7 separate regions of the Homo sapiens genome follow, and all the other regions are linked to region 6. Evidence: promoter capture Hi-C in 16 types of primary human blood cells and fetal thymus (Javierre and others, 2016). All regions are on one chromosome and are shown on one strand. The core of a region is centred on a gene start or on the middle of the fragment in contact, and the rest is flanking DNA. Distances in the headings are between cores, read along the strand shown.

The links. The method cuts DNA at HindIII sites, captures the fragments that hold promoters and counts their contacts. A CHiCAGO score of 5 or more calls a contact.
Region 1: a fragment that was not itself captured here is called in contact with the fragment with the promoter of OR1A2 in region 6 in 6 of 17 cell types (M1 macrophages, endothelial precursors, M0 macrophages and 3 more); the score reaches 10.3 in M1 macrophages.
Region 2: a fragment that was not itself captured here is called in contact with the fragment with the promoter of OR1A2 in region 6 in 3 of 17 cell types (M1 macrophages, M0 macrophages and M2 macrophages); the score reaches 9.2 in M1 macrophages.
Region 3: a contact is called between a fragment that was not itself captured here and the fragment with the promoter of OR1A2 in region 6, in 3 of 17 cell types (M0 macrophages, endothelial precursors and M2 macrophages). The highest score is 6.8, in M0 macrophages.
Region 4: a fragment that was not itself captured here is called in contact with the fragment with the promoter of OR1A2 in region 6 in 1 of 17 cell types (M1 macrophages); the score reaches 5.2 in M1 macrophages.
Region 5: a contact is called between the fragment with the promoter of TRPV3 here and the fragment with the promoter of OR1A2 in region 6, in 3 of 17 cell types (M1 macrophages, neutrophils and M0 macrophages). The highest score is 7.6, in M1 macrophages.
Region 7: a fragment that was not itself captured here is called in contact with the fragment with the promoter of OR1A2 in region 6 in 5 of 17 cell types (M1 macrophages, M2 macrophages, M0 macrophages and 2 more); the score reaches 9.7 in M1 macrophages.

Annotation. Positions count from the first base shown.
Region 1 is chr17:3,498,401-3,501,100 of GRCh38, forward strand. ASPA (aspartoacylase) reads left to right here. Exons shown (of 6, transcript NM_000049.4): 6 at 491-2,700. The coding sequence ends at 688. It also overlaps a transcript of SPATA22 not described here. Among named protein-coding and RNA genes, the nearest start is that of ASPA, 24 kb to the left of the region's middle. The HindIII fragment of the contact is 281 bases long and covers 1,175-1,455 here.
Region 2 is chr17:3,537,564-3,540,263 of GRCh38, forward strand. The region is part of intron 6 of TRPV3 (transient receptor potential cation channel subfamily V member 3); the gene reads right to left. Among named protein-coding and RNA genes, the nearest start is that of TRPV3, 19 kb to the right of the region's middle. The HindIII fragment of the contact is 3,774 bases long and covers 1-2,700 here.
Region 3 is chr17:3,518,762-3,521,461 of GRCh38, forward strand. It overlaps TRPV3 (transient receptor potential cation channel subfamily V member 3), which reads right to left. Exons shown (of 18, transcript NM_145068.4): 14 at 2,212-2,278; 15 at 1-89. Among named protein-coding and RNA genes, the nearest start is that of TRPV3, 38 kb to the right of the region's middle. The HindIII fragment of the contact is 2,484 bases long and covers 146-2,629 here.
Region 4 is chr17:3,582,576-3,585,438 of GRCh38, forward strand. TRPV1 (transient receptor potential cation channel subfamily V member 1) reads right to left here. Exons shown (of 17, transcript NM_080704.4): 10 at 763-855. Among named protein-coding and RNA genes, the nearest start is that of TRPV1, 25 kb to the right of the region's middle. The HindIII fragment of the contact is 1,527 bases long and covers 547-2,073 here.
Region 5 is chr17:3,556,562-3,559,372 of GRCh38, forward strand. TRPV3 (transient receptor potential cation channel subfamily V member 3) reads right to left here and starts at 1,251. Exons shown (of 18, transcript NM_145068.4): 1 at 1,115-1,251. RefSeq lists a silencer at 210-269 and enhancers at 1,451-2,267, 1,910-1,969, 2,050-2,099, 2,130-2,359, 2,268-2,811 and 2 more. The HindIII fragment of the contact is 5,895 bases long and covers 30-2,811 here.
Region 6 is chr17:3,195,994-3,198,826 of GRCh38, forward strand. It overlaps OR1A2 (olfactory receptor family 1 subfamily A member 2), which reads left to right and starts at 1,526. Exons shown (of 1, transcript NM_012352.3): 1 at 1,526-2,455. The coding sequence starts at 1,526. The coding sequence ends at 2,455. The HindIII fragment of the contact is 7,515 bases long and covers 1-2,833 here.
Region 7 is chr17:3,467,313-3,470,098 of GRCh38, forward strand. It overlaps SPATA22 (spermatogenesis associated 22), which reads right to left. Exons shown (of 9, transcript NM_001170698.2): 2 at 1,971-2,086; 3 at 114-242. The coding sequence starts at 2,013. Among named protein-coding and RNA genes, the nearest start is that of SPATA22, 3.1 kb to the right of the region's middle. The HindIII fragment of the contact is 927 bases long and covers 995-1,921 here.

The DNA of each region.
Region 1 (2,700 bases), core at 65-2,564, 300 kb after region 6:
CAGTGGTGTGAACATAGCTCACTGTAGCCTCAACCTCTGGGGGCTTGAGCAATCCTCCCACCTCAGCCTCCTGAGTATCTGGGACTACAGGCATGCACCACCACACCCAGCTAATTTTTCGTATTTTTTCTAGAGATAGGATCTCTGTGTTGCCCAGGCTGGTTTTGAACTCCTAGGCTCAAGCGATCCACCCACATTGGCCTCCCCAAGTGCTGGGATTACAGGCAAGGAGCCACTGCACCTGGCTGAAGCAAATGTTAATTACACGTTTCAATTATACAAATGCAAAGGGGAACTCTTAAAACTACTGCCAAAATTCACGACCCAATGTCAGCGCAGTCAGATCACTTGCCTGCATCTCAATGCCTCGCTCAAGTATCTCTTTTAAAACAACAGAATACTGTAATTTGTTAGTTGTCTAGAGTCTGACATAAATTTTTAGAGGAGAAAAACCAAATATAATATATTTATTTTGATTGTTTCCTGAGAGGATCAAGACTGGAAACCACTGCATCCTGGGGATCCCATGTTTTTAACTCTTGATGGGAAGACGATCCCACTGGGCGGAGACTGTACCGTGTACCCCGTGTTTGTGAATGAGGCCGCATATTACGAAAAGAAAGAAGCTTTTGCAAAGACAACTAAACTAACGCTCAATGCAAAAAGTATTCGCTGCTGTTTACATTAGAAATCACTTCCAGCTTACATCTTACACGGTGTCTTACAAATTCTGCTAGTCTGTAAGCTCCTTAAGAGTAGGGTTGTGCCTTATTCAACTGCATACATAGCTCCTAGCACAGTGCCTTATTCGGTAGGCATCTAAGCACATTTCTTAAATTAATTAATATATCTTTAAAGATATCATATTTTATGTATGTAGCTTATTCAAAGAAGTGTTTCCTATTTCTATATAGTTTATTATACATGATACTTGGGTAGCTCAACATTCTTAATAAACAGCCTTTGTATTCAGAATATAAAATTGAAATAGATATATATAAAGTTATTTGTTTTATTGTGCTTTGCCTTACTACACTTCACGGATACTGTACTTGTACTTTTTTTCCAAATTGAAGGTTTTTGGCAACCCTGTGTCTAGAAAGTCTAACAGTGCCATGTTTCCAACAGCATGTGCTCACTCCTTGTCTCTGTGTCACCCTTTGATAATATTTCAAGCTTTTTTATGATTTATTTATTATATCTGCTATGGTGATCTGTGATCAGTGGCCTTTGATGTTACTGTTGTTAAGTGTTTTGGGGCACCATGAATCGTGCCCATGTGAGACTGCGAACTTAGTGAATGTTGTGTGAGTTCTAACTGCTCTACTGACCGGCCATTTCCTTGTCTCTCTCCCTGTCCTCTGGCCTCCCTGTTCCTTGAGACACAATAATTAATAAGTCTACAGCAGACTCTGTGTGTTCAAGTGAAAGAAAGGGTCATACTTCTAGAAATTAAGCTTAGTAAGGAAGGCATGTCAAAAGCTGAGACAGGCTGAAAGCTAGGCCTCTTGCACTGGTTAGCCAAGTTGTGAATTCAAAGAAAAGGATCTTGAAGAAAATTAAAAATTCTACTCCAGTGCACACACACAAATGATAAGAAAGCAAAACAACCTTATTGCTGATATGGAGACAGTTTTAGTGGTCTGGATAGAAGATCAAACCAGCCACACATTAAGCCAAAGCATGACCCACAGCAAGGCCCTAACTCTCTTCAATTCTGTGAAGGCTGAGAGAGGTGAGGAAGCTGCAGGAAGCTGGGAGAGGTTGGTTCACAAGGTTTAAGGAAAGAAGACAGCTCTAAAACCTACAAGTGGAAAGCGAACCAGCAAGTTGCTGATGTGGAAGCTGTAGCAAGTTATCCAGAAGATGTAGCTAAAATCATTGACAAAGATGGCTACACTAAACAACGGATCTTCAGTGTAGTTGAAACAGCCTTCTATTGGAAGAAGATGCTATCTAGGACTTTCCTAGCTAGAGGGGAGAAATGAATGCCTAGCTTCAAAGCTTCAAAGGACAGCCTGACTCTCTTAAGAGCTAACACAGCTGGTGACTTTGGGTTAAAGCCAAAGCTCATTAACTGTTTCAAAAATCCTAAAACTCTTGTTTTTTGTTTTTTTTTTGAGACGGAGTCTTGCTCTGTCGTCCAGGCTGGAGTGCAGTGGCGCAATCTCGGCTCACTGCAAGCTCCGCCTCCCAGGTTCATGCCATTCTCCTGCCTCAGCCTCCCCAGTAGCTGAGATTACAGGTGCCTGCCACCACGCCCGGCTAATTTTTTGCATTTTTTTAGTAGAGATGGGGTTTCACTCTGCTAGCCAGGATGGTCTCGATCTCCTGACCTCATGATCCGCCTGCCTCGGCCTCCCAAAGTGCTGGGATTACAGGCATGAGCCACCACGCCCGGCCCAAAAATCGTAGGACTCTGAAGACTGATGCTAAACCTGCTGTGTCTGAGCTCTATAAATGGAACAACAAAGCCTCGCTGGCAGCACATCTGTTTGCGGCATGGTTTACTGTATATTTTAAGCCCACTGTTGAGACCTACTGCTTGGGAAAAAAAAAAATTCCTTTCAAAATACTACTGCTGATTGACAATACACCATGTTACCCAAGAGCTCTGCTGGAGATGTGCGAAGAGATTAGCATTGTTTTCGCGCCTGCTACCACGACATCCAGCCGAAGCCCATGGATCAAGGCGTCATT
Region 2 (2,700 bases), core at 47-2,546, 340 kb after region 6:
AGACAAGTGATAGGCTGGGGAAAATATTTGAGATATATAAAAAGGCAATGTGTTTTAGGGCCGGGCGCGGTAGCTCACACCTGTAATCCCAGCACTTTGGGAAGCCGAGGCGGGTGGATCACTTGAGGTCAGGAGTTCGAGACCAGCCTGGCCCACATGGAGAAACCCCATCTCTACTGAAAATACAAAAAAATTAGCCAAGTGTGGTGGCGGGCACCTGTAGTCCCAGCTACTCAGGAGGTTGAAGCAGGAGAATCACTTGAACTCAGGAGGCAGAGATCGCGCCACTGTACTCCAGCCTGGGCTAGAGAGCAAGACTCTGTCTTTTTAAAAAAAAAAAAAAAAAAAAGGCATGCCAGGCACGGTGGCTCACACCTGTAATCCCAGCACTTTGGGAGGCTGAGGCGGGCAGATCACGAGGTCAGGAGATCGAGACCATCCTGGCTAACCTGGTGAAACTCTGTCTCTACTAAAAATACAAAAAATTAGGCGGGCGTGATGGTGAGTGCCTGTAGTCCCAGCTACTCGGGAGGCTGAGGCAGGAGAATGGTGTGAACCCGGGAGGTGGAGCTTGCAGTGAGCATGCCACTGCACTCCAGCCTGGGCAATAGAGCAAGACCCCGTCTCAAAAAAAAAATAGAAAGGCATTGTGTTTTTAAAAGTCTATAATATATTACAAGCGCCTATGAATCAATAGAAAGACAAACAGTCTAAAAGAAAACTGAGAAAAGATTATAAACAAGCACCTCACAGAGGAGAAAATACACACAGTGAATAAACAAAGTGAAAGATGTTTGGAATCACTGGTGGTCAGGAAAATGAAAATTAGAACCTAAAGAGTTAACCCTTTTCACCCACCAGACTGGAAAAGAACAAAAAAAAAAAAAAAAGGATAATTTGCAGTGTTAGTGATAAGTAGGAGAATGAGTATTTCTGTACACCGTTGTGGGGAGAGAGTAAATGAGTATCTTTTAGAGACAAATTTGGCAATAACTATTATAACTTTATTTTATTTATTTAAAAAAAAATTTTTTTTTTTGAGATGGAGTCTCCCTCTGTTGCCCAGGCTGGAGTGCAGTGGCGCGATCTCGGCTCACTGCAACCTCCGCCTCCCAGGTTCAAGTGATCCTCCTGCCCCAGCCTCCCAAGTAGCTGGGATTACAAGCGTGCCCCACCACGCCCTACTAGTTTTTGTATTTTTAGTAGAGATGGGTTTTCACCATGTTGGCTAGGCTGGTCTGGAACTCCTGACCTCAAGTGATCCACCTGCCTTGGCCTCCCAAAGTGCTGGGATTACAGGCATGAGCCACTGCGCCTGGCCACTATTATAACTTTAAATATGCATGCGGTTGAACCCAGATATTCCAATTCAAAATATTTTCTGAAACATATGTGCACCTGTGCACAGGGTCATAGACAAGATCGTGCACTGTGACATTGTCACAACACAGCTGGAAACACCTGACTGTCTGTCAGTGGGGGAGTGGTGAAATTAGCCAAGGTGCAGCCGCAATTGCAGACGAATCTGGTGAAAAGAAGCTAGACTTTCATATTTTGGCATAAGAAGTGCTCCAAGACATATGGTTAATAGTTAATCAAAAAAACCAACTTGTAGAATACAGACAGTATGATAATATTTTATGTTAAATAAATAAAACTTTTTCTGTGTGCACATATACACACACAAATGTCAAAGGCCTAGAAAACTCCACAAAGTATATGGGTAAAGGACTTAAAAAAAAAAAAAGTATGTAAAATGCTGGGCTGCTTTACAATGAAACTCTATTCATGTGACGTGGATGTTGTTAGGCTGGGTGCGGTGGCTCACGCCTATAATCCCATCATTGAGAGGCAGAGGCGGGAGGATTGCTTGAGCCCCGGAGTTACAGACCAGCCTGGGCAACATGGTGAAACCCTATCCCTGCAACAAATAGAAAAATTAGCTGGGCGGGGTGGCACGCATCTATAGTCCCAGCTACTCGGGAGGCTGAGGTGGGAAAATTACCTGAGCCCAGGGAGGTCAAGGCTGCAGCGAGTCGTGGTCGCGCCACTGCACTCCAGCCTGCCCAACAGAGTGAGAACCTGTCTCAAAAACAATAATAAAATAAAATAAAGTAAAATAATAAAAAGAAACTGTTATATTGAATCTGATGATGGATGTGTAGAGGTTTATTATTCTAATATCTTAACTTCATGTTTAAAATTTTTATAATAAAAATGTCTTAATTGAAGAATTGCTTAAAAAAGTAAAACTCTGAAGGCCTCTGATAAAATGCTTTAAAATGATATGAATAAAGTTGTGATTGGTTCCTCTTAGCAGCATAGGGAGGAAATATTCGCCCTTGCCCAGTGGGGAAACTGAGGCTCAGAGAGGTGAGGCAGTTGCCTGTAGTCCCAGCTACTTGGGATGCTGAGGCAGGAGAATCACCTGAACCCGGGAGGCAGAGGTTGTGCCACTGCACTCCAGCCTGGTGACACAGCGGAACTCCATCTCAAAAAATAAATAAATAAATAAATAAATAAATAAATAAACAAAGTCATTGCTCTAAATAAGGTTATTTTAGATACAAAAAAATGCTATGAAAATAAATGAAGATAGGGTGACAGAAAGTGACTGGGGAAGGGAAACTTTAGAGTGGACAATCAGAGTGGTCACCTTGGGTCCTGCCCAGAGTGTGGAAGAATGCTACTCTGCTGGTC
Region 3 (2,700 bases), core at 138-2,637, 320 kb after region 6:
GAAGAGTTCCAGCACTGCGTCGCTGAAGCTGCCGTAGGAGCTGCAGTCCTTGTTGTCTTTGGGACACTTCTCGATCAGCGAGGCCAAGGCTAAGGGAACATAACAGGGTGCTCTCCTCAGCTCTCTGCCTGGTAATTACTCTACAAGCTTGCGTGTATTTGCCTACATGACAAGCCTGCTGCCTCCTTCTCTCTGGCCATTAAATCCCATCTCCAGTTTCAGGTCCTCTCAAAGCCTCATCAGGCTGGCTTCTCTGGCCTGGCCTCCTGCAGAAAGCCCTTCCACCTAACAAAGCCCAGAGTCTTCTCTCCTTCCTTTACCCCGCAGTCTGCCCTTGATCACTTGCAGCCTTGCAGAGCCACTAATTATAATCCATGTGTGTGTCCCTGGCTCCCCAGCTAGTCTTTGAGCTCCTGACTTCCTCTAGCCTGGGTCACCTCCCTCAAGGCTGTAAGATCCTGAGTCTCCTCCTAATGCTCTGTTTTGAGTTCCCTGTGAGCAAGACCAGGCTCACACTTCCCTTCTTTCCAACACACCACAGTAGAGGTTCACTGCTGAATGGTTGGATGGATGGATGGATGGATGGATGGATGGATATGGAGGGATGGATGGAGGGATGGATGATTAGATGGAGGGATGGATGGATGGATGGATGGATGATTGGATGGATGGATGGATGGATGGATGGATAGATGATTAGATGGATGGATGGATAGATGATTGGATGGATGGATGGATGGATGGGTGATTAGATGGATGGATGGATGGATGGATAGATGGATGGATGGACCAATTGATCGATGGATGGATGGATGATTAAATGGATGAATGGATGGATGACTGGATGGATGGATGGATGGATGGATGGATGATTAGATGGATGATTAGATGGATGGATGGACTGATTGATCGATGGATGGATGGATGATTGGATGGATGGATAGATGGATGGATGGATGGATGGATGGATGGATGGATGGATGGATTGATGGATGAATGATTAGATGGATGGATGGATGGATGGATAGCTGGATGGATGGACCGATTGATCGATGGATGGATGATTAAATGGATGAATGGATGGATGACTGGATGGATGGATGGATGGATGGATGGATGGATGGATGATTGGATGGATGATTAGATGGATGGATGGATGGATGGATGGATGGATAGATGGATAGATCAATGGATGGATCGATGGATGAATGATTGGATGGATGGATGGATGGATGGATGGATGGATGGATGGACGGATAGACAGGTGGATGAGCAAATTAAATGAGAGAGTAAATAGATGGATGAATAAACAAGCAGGTGAAGGAGCAAATAAATAAGCAAATTGTGACCCAGAAAAGGTACCAGACAGATGGAAACAGCTACTTAATTTCAAATGTCAATGGTCACTGAAGAAAAGAAAAAAAAGCAACTGGTACGTGGGGGAAAATGATATCTCTCTATGCAGAGGTTAGAAATACAACCAGATCGTGCTGTTCCCTCTGTTGTAAATGGAGAGATTTTAAGAGGGGGCTCCTTCCTGGTCCCAGCAGACCAGAGAGGCTCTCACAGTTGTATCTAAAGCAAACTGTGAGAGTAACGTGATGTGAAATCCAAAGGAAATCACCTCAGGGTATTAGTTTGCTCCTACTTTGCAAAGACCATCAGTTGAGTTTCTGTGGACTTTAGTTTCCGCATCTGTTAAAATGGGGCTGAAAACACTTGCAGAACCTATCTTAGGTCGTGAGGGCCACGTAAGCAATGAATGGGAAAGCCAGAGGTATATACCACATGGTGAAGTTGGATTATGAGTGGCTGGCCTGGTTTGAATCCTGGAGTCTCTAAGCCTCAGTTACCTTATGATCGGGGTGATGATTCCCACTTGATCAAGTTGTTGAGAGAAGTAAAAAGGTAATGCTTGATTAGGAGATATACCTAATGTAAATGACGAGTTAATGGGTGCAGCATACCAACATGGCACATGTATACATATGTAACAAACCTGCATGTTGTGCACATGTACCCTAGAACTTAAAGTATAATAAAATATATATGTATATATATAAAGGTAATGCTTGGAAAATGCCAAGCATGGCAAGTGCCCCACTGGTAGTTGGTCTAATTGTTGCCAAGGCCGCCATGCACTTTGCCATTTTGACATCTGTATAAAGTGTTTATAAATGTGGGAGTTACTATTATTTATAAATCAATTACCTACTCCAAATCCAAGCAAAAACACGATATATACAAACAAGAACTTCAGAACATCATGCAAAATGACCTATAAGGAAATAAACATAATTCAAGTGTAAGGTGCAAGCACATATTCACGGCACCCTGATCTTCCTGCTTCCCACCCTCTCCCACCCCCCACCCTAACTGTCTCTTCACTTGGGCCACTCTCCCTTCCCCCAGCCAAATCCTCCTGATGCTCCAAGGCTCAACACTGGATCCTGCCTCCTCCAGGAAGCCTTCTGTTTCTGCTCCAGCCCCAGGTTCTCTTCTCCCTGTGATTCACCCTGTACCTTTCACCATAGGGTCTCACACTGGAATCCTCACACTTGCTGGGGGCAGTGGCATGCTGGAGCCAGCTCAGAAGAGCTCGCAAGAGCTGATCGTTAAATTCTCATGAAGCTTGTGAGCTGGTTGTTAAACACAGCCATTATTCAGAACTAAATCAATGAATAAGATGAATAAGTTCTG
Region 4 (2,863 bases), core at 60-2,559, 390 kb after region 6:
AGTCCCACATTCAAAGAAAAGATTACTCCTGCATTAAAAAAAAAAAAAATGGCCAAGGATTGCACATGTTTGAGTTTCAGGTTAAAAATAAAACAATTCCTTGCTGGTGTGGTGGCTCACGCCTGTAATCCCAGCACTTTGGGAGGCTGAGGCAGGTGGATCACCTGAGGTCAGGAGTTCGAGACCAGCCTGGCCAACATGGTGAAACCCCACCTCTACTAAAAATACAAAAAAATTAGCCGGCTGTGGTGGCAGGCGCCTGTAATCCCAGCTACTCAGGAGAATTTTTTGAACCCAAGAGGCGGAGGTTGCAGTGAGCCGAGATCGTGCCACTAGCCTCCAGCCTAGATGACAAAGCGAAACTCCACCTCAAAAAAAAAAAAAAAAGATTCCAGTATGCAAGGAGATTTCCTTCACTGCTCAGAGCTTTAACAGATTGGTTTAATTAAAAAACTACCAGTCATGATCCTATCACTTAAGAGGCCTCCACTCTGCCCCTGTAATCAAATACTCCGTTCCGTGGAGTGGCTGGAGTGTCTACTTTCAAGCTTGCCTGCCTTGGGCCTGTGGAGACGCCCTGAGCACCCTCCCGCCCCGCGGTGACTGACTGAAGGGCTCTCATCTTCACCTCTGCGTCTCTCAGCTCCCCAAGTAGGGCTATGATGTGTCTGATGAATTAAAAAGTGAGTGAGCGCTGAGGGATCTTCTTGGCTTTTTGTTTTGGTGATAATGGAAACTCACAATGTGGGAAGGAACGCTTACCCCTCGGAAAAAGAAGTAGACTCCTCCTAACACAGACAGGATCTCTCCAGTAACTCGGAAATAGTCTCCAGTTTTTTCCATCTTAAAGGGAGGCTGTGAGATGCAGAGAAGTTGGTAACTCCATTTACTCATTCGTTCATTCAACAAACATGGACCAGGTCCATGAAGCCATAGTCCCTGCCCAGGAGGCACAGCCTCCATCAGGGGAAGGACACACAAAGACAGTGTGTTATTAGGGGAGCGCCCGCAAGGAGGCCCCTCTGTGGGCCTGATTCCCCAAAGTGGCAGCCTGCAGGTGCCAAGCGGAGCATCTTACAATGCTGTGCCGCCTCCCAAGCAATGTCCCGGCAGGCCCAGAGCTCCTCCTGGCTGGGAGCAGAGTGATGGACAGCAGGGTGATGGAGAGGTGGAAGCACTCTCATGGACCCCACGCCATACACATCCCGCTGCCACCCCAGCCCATGGCCAGTCTCCCACGAGTGTCAGGGACTCCCACTGACCATGGAGGGAGAGACTGTGCCACACACACTTGTGGGTGTCACCCTTGTATTTCAGTGGCCATTTCCTGGAGTGGGTCACCATCCACATTTCCTAAGCACTAGTTCATCAGCTTGCCTTACCAGCACATTTTTCTCTTAAAAAGAAGTCACTGGCCGGGTGCAGTGGCTCACGCCTGTAATCCCAGCACTTTGGGAGGCCGAGGCGGGCGGATCACCTGAGGTCGAGAGTTCGAGACCAGCCTGACCAACATGGAGAAACCCCATCTCTACTAAAAATACAAAATTAGCCAGGCGTGGTAGCTCATGGCTGTAATCCCAGCTACTTGGGAGACAGAAGAATCACTTGAACCCCGGAGCCAGAGGTTGCGGTGAGCCAAGGTGGCGCCACTGCACTCCAGCCTGGGCAACAGAGCGAGACTCTGTCTCAAAAAACAAAAAACAAAAAACAAAAAAAAAGAGGGAGGCTGAGGCAGGAGAATGGCGTGAACCCAGGAGGCAGAGCTTGCAGTGAGCTGAGATCACACCACTGCACTCCAGCCTGGAAAACAGAGAGAGACTCTGTCTCAAAAAAAAAAAAAATAAAATAAAAAAAAAAGGAAGTCATTATGTGGCCTTAATAGGTGGACAGAAATCGGGTTTCATGCAATTATGAAGTTGAGTTTTTAAAGTAAATGTGCAGCCGGGCACGGTGGCTCACACCTGTAATCCAAGCACTTTGGGAGGCCGAGGCAGGCGATCACTTGAGGTCAGGAGTTCAAGACTAGCCTGGCCAATACGGTGAAATCCCATCTCTACTAAAAATATAAAAATAAGCTTGGCATGTTGGTGGGTGCCTGTAGTCCCAGCTATTCGGGAGGCCGAGGCAGAAGAGTCACTTGAACCCGGGAGGTGGAGGTTGCAGTGAGCAGAGATTGCGCCACTGCACTCCAGCCTGGGTGATAGAGCGAGACTCCATCTCAAAAAAACAAAAATTAAGTAAGTAAGTAAACTTGTAAAGTGCCCTGGAAACAAAAGCAGCAAATTAAGTGTCCTGGGTATCAGACACGAAGGACTAAGTCCAGAAGTTTGATGAAGTCTTGGCTCTTGGCAGAGGAAAAAGGCTGGTCTTAGGCTGATTTGATGGATGGCCCAGGGCCTGGCACAGAGCTGCTCAAAAGTCTAAATCCAGGGAATGAATAATGAGCAAGTGAGTGAATGAAAGAGGGCAGGCAAGCAGGATGATGGTGGGCTCTGGGCTTAGACACCAGCCCACATCCCTGGGGACCCCCAGGCCAGGGGTGAGCCCTGTCCCGAGCCCAAATTCCTGCGTGATTTTTCTTTTTTTTTTTTTGAGACAGAGTTTCACTCTTGTTGACCAGCCTGGAGTGCAGTGGTGCCATCTCAGCTCATCACAACCTCTGCCTCCAAGGTTTAAGCGATTCTCCTGTCTCAGCCTCCCTGAGTAGCTGGGATTACAGGCAGGCTCCACCACACCCAGTTAATTTGGTGTTTTTAGTAGAGACGGGGTTTCACCATGTTGGTCAGGCTGGTCTCAAACTCCAGACCTCAGGTGATCTGCCCACCTCAGCCTCCCAAAGTGCTGGGATTACAGGCATGAGCCA
Region 5 (2,811 bases), core at 1-2,500, 360 kb after region 6:
GGCCACTGGTGATCCTACCCCAATAGGAAAGCTTCCTGGAGGAAGTTTCCGGAGCCAGGTGTCATCAGGCTGGAGAGAGTCCCCCGCCCTCCAACTCAAAGGGAGCAGGCTCAGGATGGAGGAGGCATCGGCGAGGGAGAGCTTTGGCCCTGGAGCGTAGGCAACCTTGAGGCCAGGCAGGTGGAGTAGCCCACAGAGAGGGACTCCTGGGCACCCGGCCCTCCCGTGTCCAGTCACGGCCTGATGAGGATGGGCAGCCTCTATGGCTTTCCCCATCCCCACGTGGCCTTTGGTGGACTAAAAGGCTGGGATGCACCGAGCGTGAAGGAGACAGAAGAAGGGCACGTCTCTTGCCCCTCCCAGGGCCTCTGGTTTCCTTTCTGAGAAGTGGGCTGAATGGTCCCCAAGGACTCTGTGGCCCTGAGAGCTGGTTGCTCTCTCTCTTCTCTGGGCCCGAGAATGTGGCCTGCCCTGGGCCTCTGGGGCAGGAGAGGCTCAGGGAACTCTGGACTAGGGCCGCAGCAGCTATCATTAGCTCCCTGAGTCACCCCGTAAACCCCACGTTCTCACCTGCTGGACTCTCTTGTTGCCCTGGCCCTCCCTCTCTCTCCCAATCCCTGACACTGATTGAAATGGCCTTTCCCGGGCGACAGACCAGGCCGCGGAGCCACAGCTGCTGACTCAGCACCTGTGAGATGCCTGGGCCCCGTCTGTCTCCCACGGTGGGGCCACCTCCTCCCATCCTGAACTCCCATCACAATCCTGCCCCAGAAAGCCACCTCCCTGGGTCAGCCTCGGGAGGCAGGAGCCTCTCCTCTGCCCCCAGCAGTGGTGAGATTGAGATGTCCCTCCCCAGGATTCCCAAACCTCAGGGGAATGTTCCTGAGTCTGTAAGGACCTATATTCTCACACATCCCTACAGCCAAGAGTGCAGCCAAGAGTGCCTCCCTACAGCCAAGAGTGGGCCCCTGGCTGGGGCCCAAGCTCCTTCCAACCCTCCTCCCAAGGCCTATTGGCCAAGGGCAGACATGGCCCAGAGGACCTCTGAGGGCCACGCTCTGGGCTCCCCAGGGGCCTTGGAGATCACCAGCTGCCTTGTGCACAGAAGACTCACCTGGTGAGGTTCTGGGTGGTCGTGGCAACCCTTGCCCTGAGATCACCGCATGTCTGGGGCCCAAGGCCCCCGGGTGGGACTGTGGCTGAGGCGGCGGGAAGCTCTCATTGCAGGCAGAGGGATGGCTGGAATGAGGCGTCAGAGGCAGAACTGGCTGAGCCACCTGCCCTCGGCGCCAGGCAGGCCACGCCCACCAGCCACAGCTGCAGCACCCGCCCACCCACGTGGCCCGTGTGAGTCACCCCCACACCCACACAGCAGCCTCATCCCCACCGGAGAAAAGGCAGGGGAGGCCGCAGGTGCCAAGATCGAAGTTGTGGGTCCAACTCCTCCCTCTCTGGCATTCCATGCTGGGCAGGGACTGCCCATCTCAGGCCTATTTTTCCAACTAGGAAATGGGAATGATAACATCTACTTTCCAAGGGAGCCGTGAAGAGCCAAAGAGATCACAGAGGTGGGAGGGCCTAGTGAAGAGTCAAGCGCTCTGCTCTGTCCCCTGGGAGGGAAGACCGCAGCCCAGGCCTAGCCTGGTTGACCTCAGGGTGGCCAGCCCCAAGACTCGGCACTTGTTCTCAAAAGTCGGTTCCTGGGATCAGGTCTCTCGGGGACGGAAGTCCCCATTTAATGCTGTCCACCAGCAGTCACGCATCATGGCCCTTAGTGTCAGCCTCACCCCTTCCTGGCTGAATGACCTTAGCAGGTCATTTCTCCGAGCCTCAGTCTCCTCATCTGTGAAACGTGCTTCATAAACCCACTTTGCAAGGTTATCGTGGGGCTTCAACAAGTACAAGTAGAAAGGGCCAGAACAAGGCCCAGGGCACGGCAAGAACTCAATAAACAATGTCAGCTCTTAGCTATGATTGCTTTTGTCATCTCAATGTATTCTCCCAGCAACTGCCCAGGTTGCCCTTCTCCAAGGCCAGGGCGTCATAGAAGGAATCGGTGCCCTCTCTCCTGGCCCAGGCTGCAGCTGTGAAGTGGGTGGAGTGAGTCAGGATGGCCGTGTGTGTCTCGCGTCACTCAGGAACTGCACACCTGCTCCCCGGGGCGAGATGTGGACAAGACACAGCTGGGACAGAGCAGGAAGTCTCTGCTGACGCGGCCGCAGCTGGCGCCTGATGGGCAGGGAAATCCCCAGCTGTGAGCCTCTCAATCCCTCATCATCACAACCTGCCTGGCCTGGGGAGGAGGCAGGAGGCAGGTGAGGCTTCTAGGCCACGGGAGAGCAGGACCTATGGCCGGTAAGGGGCAGACCAGACTTGAGGGTGTGGGTGAAGCAGGAGACCGCTTCTGCCGTTGAAGTCAGGGGGTCCTGAAGTTCCCACTCACAATCTGAAATCTCATGACTGTGCCTGAAACTCGACCGGAAAAGCCCGATCTGGGGTTGAGCACGGCCTCCGGCCACTAGCTTACTCACCCTCTCCCGACCCAGCCCCGCGCCCTCCCTGTTTGCCTCTGGCGGCTCAGACGCCTGGGGAGGAAGCTGCTGCCAAATGTCAGTGCTTCCATTTTGCTCGTGTTCATAACTTTTCTCAGAGGGCAGGTGGGAGCTGGTGAAAAAGGCCCCTGTCTCCCACCCAGAGGTGTGCCCTGTGCCCAGCAAGGAAGAAGGGGACCCCCGCTCTGCTATGAGAGGCAGCAGGAGCCAGGTCACCCAGTGGAGTCACAGTCACTACTTAGGAAGCCCGAGCCCATCC
Region 6 (2,833 bases), core at 276-2,775:
TCTCAAAAAAAAAAAAAAAAAAAGAAAAGAAACATCTTGCAAACTACTTAGGTTTTAAGTGCAGAGTGTGGGGTTTGGTCAGACATGTTAGCAGGATGACTGAATATGGAAATATGGGAAAAAGAAATCGAGACCACAGATACAGACATGACAGTTTACTAAAGAATAGTTGAATCCACTGTGGACTTGGATTACTACAAAAAGAAATAAGGAAGACAAGGAAGAGAAGACTGCTATGGATTGAGTTTGCCCTCACCAAAACTCATGTTGAAATGTGATCCCCAGTGTGGGAGGTGTTGGGAGGTAAAGCCTAGTGGGAAGCGTTTGAGTCAAGGGGGTGGATCCCTCATGAGTGGTCTGGTGCTGTTCTCATGGTAGTAAGTGTGTTCTCATTCTCTCAAGACTGGATTAATCTTAAGGGAATGTTCCTACAGGAGTGGGTTGTGATAAAACCAGTATACTTCTCGGGTTTTCTCTCTTCCCCTGTATCCACTTCCCTGTTGACCTTCTCTGACAGGTTATGATGCAGCAAGAAAGCCCTTGCCAGAAGCCAGGGCCACGCTCTTGAATGTCCCAGCCTACAGATCCATGAGACAATTCAACCTCTTTTCTTATAAATTCCCCAGTCTCAAGTATTCTGTTATAGCAACACAAAATGAACCAAGACAAAGGCCAGTGGAAAAAGCACTGTGATTATGTATAGTTATGGGCTTTGAAAAGAGAGAAAAGCTGTCAAAAAGATAGGGAATATCTTTGAAAATCGAACACCTGTGGAGTAAGTTCACTGAGCTTGTTTTTCTAGGACCTAATGCCAGTTGTCTTTCTGTTTTAGAATCTGATGGCAGTGTAGACACCTCTGACTTCCTGGGCTCTGGGCTCACCCCGAGACTGGTTGGAGGAACAACTTTAAATTGTTCACTGCATTCCTACTATGATACATCCTTTGCACTGGAGGATTTTTTGTTTGTTTTTTTCACAAGGACTCCAAGAGGCTATCCTTTTCTTACCATGTGTAATAAAATTATTGTGTGAGTCTGGCTTTCCTATTCAATTATAAGGTCCTTGAGAACAGATGCTATGTCTTGTGTAACAAATAAGTGGATGAATAACTGTATTTTCACATATTTATTGTTTCTCTACAAAGTAAAAAAAAATCTAAGACATGAAACATGAAATTAGGTTTTTGTTATGTGATTAAATTATAGATATTAAGGTGGTGGTGCTACATTTGGAAGGACAACCATCTTTACTTCACAGATCGCTAACTTCTTTGACATGAGTGTCCAGGAGGTCAATGAGAGTTCGTCCCATTGACCAACAGAGATTTTACCCAAAAGTGCTGGCTATATTTATGATTGTAAAAACCAGGTATAGCCATGGCTAATGAAAAGTGGTGGATAAGTTTGACAGCAGGTGAATTTGTAAAATAATTAAAAACGTTTAAGTGGTAGATAAGGCAGACTATAACACACACTAACTGCGCTAATAATTCTGGGTTCCTCTCCCCTTTCATGCTGAAGAAGCCATGAAGAAAGAAAATCAATCCTTTAACCTGGATTTTATTCTCCTGGGAGTTACTAGTCAGCAAGAACAGAATAATGTCTTCTTTGTGATTTTTTTGTGCATTTACCCCATCACACTGACTGGAAATCTGCTCATCATCTTGGCCATCTGTGCTGACATTCGCCTTCACAACCCCATGTATTTTCTCCTTGCCAACCTCTCCTTGGTTGACATCATCTTCTCATCCGTAACCATCCCTAAGGTGCTGGCCAACCATCTCTTGGGGAGCAAGTTCATCTCCTTTGGGGGATGCCTAATGCAGATGTATTTCATGATAGCCTTGGCCAAGGCAGACAGCTATACCTTGGCTGCAATGGCATACGATCGAGCTGTGGCCATCAGCTGCCCACTTCATTACACAACAATTATGAGTCCACGGTCTTGTATCCTGCTTATTGCTGGGTCTTGGGTGATTGGAAACACCAGTGCTCTCCCCCACACTCTGCTCACAGCTAGTTTGTCCTTCTGTGGCAACCAGGAAGTAGCCAATTTCTACTGTGACATTATGCCTTTGCTGAAGTTGTCCTGTTCTGACGTCCACTTTAATGTGAAGATGATGTACCTAGGGGTCGGCGTTTTCTCTTTGCCATTACTATGCATCATTGTCTCCTATGTTCAGGTCTTTTCCACAGTCTTCCAAGTTCCATCTACCAAGAGTCTATTCAAAGCCTTCTGCACCTGTGGCTCCCACCTCACAGTTGTTTTTTTATATTATGGTACAACGATGGGCATGTATTTCCGCCCTCTGACCAGTTACAGCCCCAAAGATGCAGTGATAACTGTGATGTATGTGGCAGTGACCCCAGCATTAAATCCTTTCATCTATAGTCTGAGAAATTGGGATATGAAGGCAGCCCTACAGAAACTCTTCAGCAAGAGAATCTCCTCATAGCCGCTGTGAGATTACACGCTGGATACTGTAATGACCAAGTGGGATACACTTGGAAATCCAGCTCCAATGTCATTGCCCTTCAAGAAGCTCCTTTTGTTCTTTTGAGCCAGAAATTCCTCTACCAGAAATCTTGTAACGGATGTGATATTTTATTGAAATTATCACTTTGGACAAATTCCTGCTCTTTTTTGAGAGAGTGGCAGGCTGGGAATATCAGGTTCATGTCCCAGTTAGCAGAAATTTACTAGCAGAGTAAAGTTGAAAAAGTCTGAGTCTCAGCTTGCATATCTACATGTTAGGAAAATAATATCTGCCGGACTCTCTGACACAGCTTGTGTATATCAAAATGGCTCATGCTTTGAAGGCTGCAAATTACTA
Region 7 (2,786 bases), core at 208-2,707, 270 kb after region 6:
ATAATGGAAAGAAGAAAAAATAAACTTTCTATTTTCATTATAATATAAATTACAATTTTCTATAATCCTAGTTTTGTATTTCCTGAAAATTTTTACCTTATTAATTTTCTTACCTGTAGGTAGAGGAGGAAAATCATAATTGTCAGAAGGGGTACTGATACCTGAATCATCTTTAAGTGGATTAGAAGTTAATGGCTGTCTGTTCCTCTTTTTCTGATTGAACAACGGAACAGGCAAACAGCCTAAATTGAATGTACCAATAAATTAGTACATAATAGACAAATAAGCAGATCTAGTTGTAAAATAATTACTAGTATAATACACACTTTACATTTATCTACTTCTATATGCTAATATACTTATAGATTTCTATAACCTTAGAATGATTTTTACATTCTTTTTAAGATCCTGAATAGCCTAATTTGTTTCTTCAAAAAACTTTTCTTATTCTACTCTAACAGTTTTAATTCCTCCCATATGGAAGTAATTCCCATCTCCCCCCTCATCCCCCAACCTTTCCAAATCCACTTTTTGTTTTCCTTATCCCCCTCCTGTGCTTGCCTGTTACCATATCGACTGCAGGGGACCTTTGAAGTACAACAGAGGTGAGGAAGAACCAAACTCTGAACCATGCTTTGGACAATAGTGGCACACCCTTTTGGGCCTTGGTTCTCAAAGTTTCATTGGACTAAGATTTATCTGGAATTCTGCTTAATGTGCAGTTCCTAGACTCCACTCTCATAGATTTTATTTCAACAGATTTAGCCTGGAACTCAAAACTCTGCAATTTTAACAAGCACCTCGGGTATCTGTAATTATATATTTTGTGGATCATTTTGAGAATGCCTTAAAGAGTAATAATATCCAGTCCAAATGAGAATAAATACTACTACCGATTCCTCCAGATGGCGGATCTAGGATCTCAATTCAGGTCAAAAGTCACAAAATATAAACTTTGAAACTTAGGGAACTCGAAGGGAAAAGAAGTTCAAAAAGCTTGTGCATTGCTATAGAGCAAGTCAGTGGAAGAATCTAGATAGGACACAAGATTCCTAAATATCAGTTTGGATCTCTTGCCACTGTACCATTCTCTAACTGGTCATCATCAATTGTTCTACAGGCAAATACAGACTCTGTGAACAGTCTCTGATGAAAGGCTGGGAGAATTATGTGGGCTCTGGAATCAGACCGCCTAGGTCTTGAATTATGACTTCAAAGTAGGTTTGAATTACAATTTCAGAGTATGATCTTGGGCAATTTCCCTAAACTCTTTGTGCCAATATGACATATACTGATAGCATAATGATTAAGAGCATGGACTAAGAGCCAGATTCCTAGGTTCAAATTCTGATTCTGCTACTTCATGGATTACTTATTTAACCTCTTTTAGCCTTGTTTTTCTCATCTGAACAACAGAAATGATTATAATAACCTATCTCAGGGTATTGGTGTAAAGATTAAATAAATTAATATATATAATTAATGTCTTGAATACAGTTAATCCACCATAAATAATAGTTACTATTATCTTCATTATGCATCATCATTCCCCTGGTTCTCATCATCCTTGCCATCTGTCTTTATACTAATAAATTGGGAAAGCAAAAATGATAGGAGAAGCTATTAGAAAGACAGAAGTGCTTCCGGAAATATTTTTAACAAGTAAGTCACAAATACAAACAAAAATAGATCTATTTCTTTGTTTTCAGTTTTAAAGCATAGAATAACTCAAGCACATCGAATTTGTAGAAAGAATATCAAAATAAATCTAAGAAACTTTGATCTTACTCCCACCTCTACCACTAAATGTTTTGTCTTGAGTAAGTTATTTTACTTCCTTGGACCTAAAAAGTAAAGAGGCTAGATTAACTGTTCAATCTATTTTAAATTTATTTCCAATGTTATATCTATAAACTATACAAGCTTTATATGCTATACAGAAAATTTAAAAATAAAAAGTTGTTCAATACCTGCTGTACTTCGAGCTGAATTTTCATTTAGGCTTCGCTTCATTTCCTTCAATATCAAAATCTATAATTTTCTATTCAGCATTCCAAATTTATAATATGACATTGTCCCACTAGACCTGCAAAGAAAGAAACTTATAACTCGTATTGTCTCAACTATAAAACCCAATCCTCAGCCCAGTGATTACTGAAATTATGGTTGTAAACTACTTTCAAACCTGATCACGTAAACACTTTAGGGAGTCCTTTGCTTTCTAAGAGTTTACACCATAATCCACTTTTCCAACCCTGTTCAAATTAAGTTATGACTAGGGCAACTGTAACCTTGCTTCGTAAACATATGTGCATTTTTTCACACAGTATATGTAATTTATTTCAGAATCCCGCACCCACAAAGAGAATTCTGAACCACACCTACAAAGAGGAAAATGGACCACAGCGTTGGCAAACGTACATGCTTCCAAGGCCAAGGAGGAAACACAGTATTTAGCCACCGGGAACTTCCTCCATGCCCCACTTTAAGGCATTGTGCAGGACATCTGCCTTTGCATCAGTTTGAAATGCCTGGATTATATAATATCAAAGACTAAGTCTTCCTGAGGTCAGGAGTTCAAGACCAGCCTGGCCAACATGGCAAAAGCCCATCTCTACTAAAAATACAAAATTAGCCAGGAGTGGTGGCGGGCGCCTGTAATCCCAGCTACTCGGGAGGCCGAGGCAGGAGAATCGCTTGAGCCCGAGAGGCCGAGGTTGCAGTGAGCTGAGATCGTGCCACTGCACTCCAGCCTGGGCAACAAGACCCAGACTCCATCTCAAAAA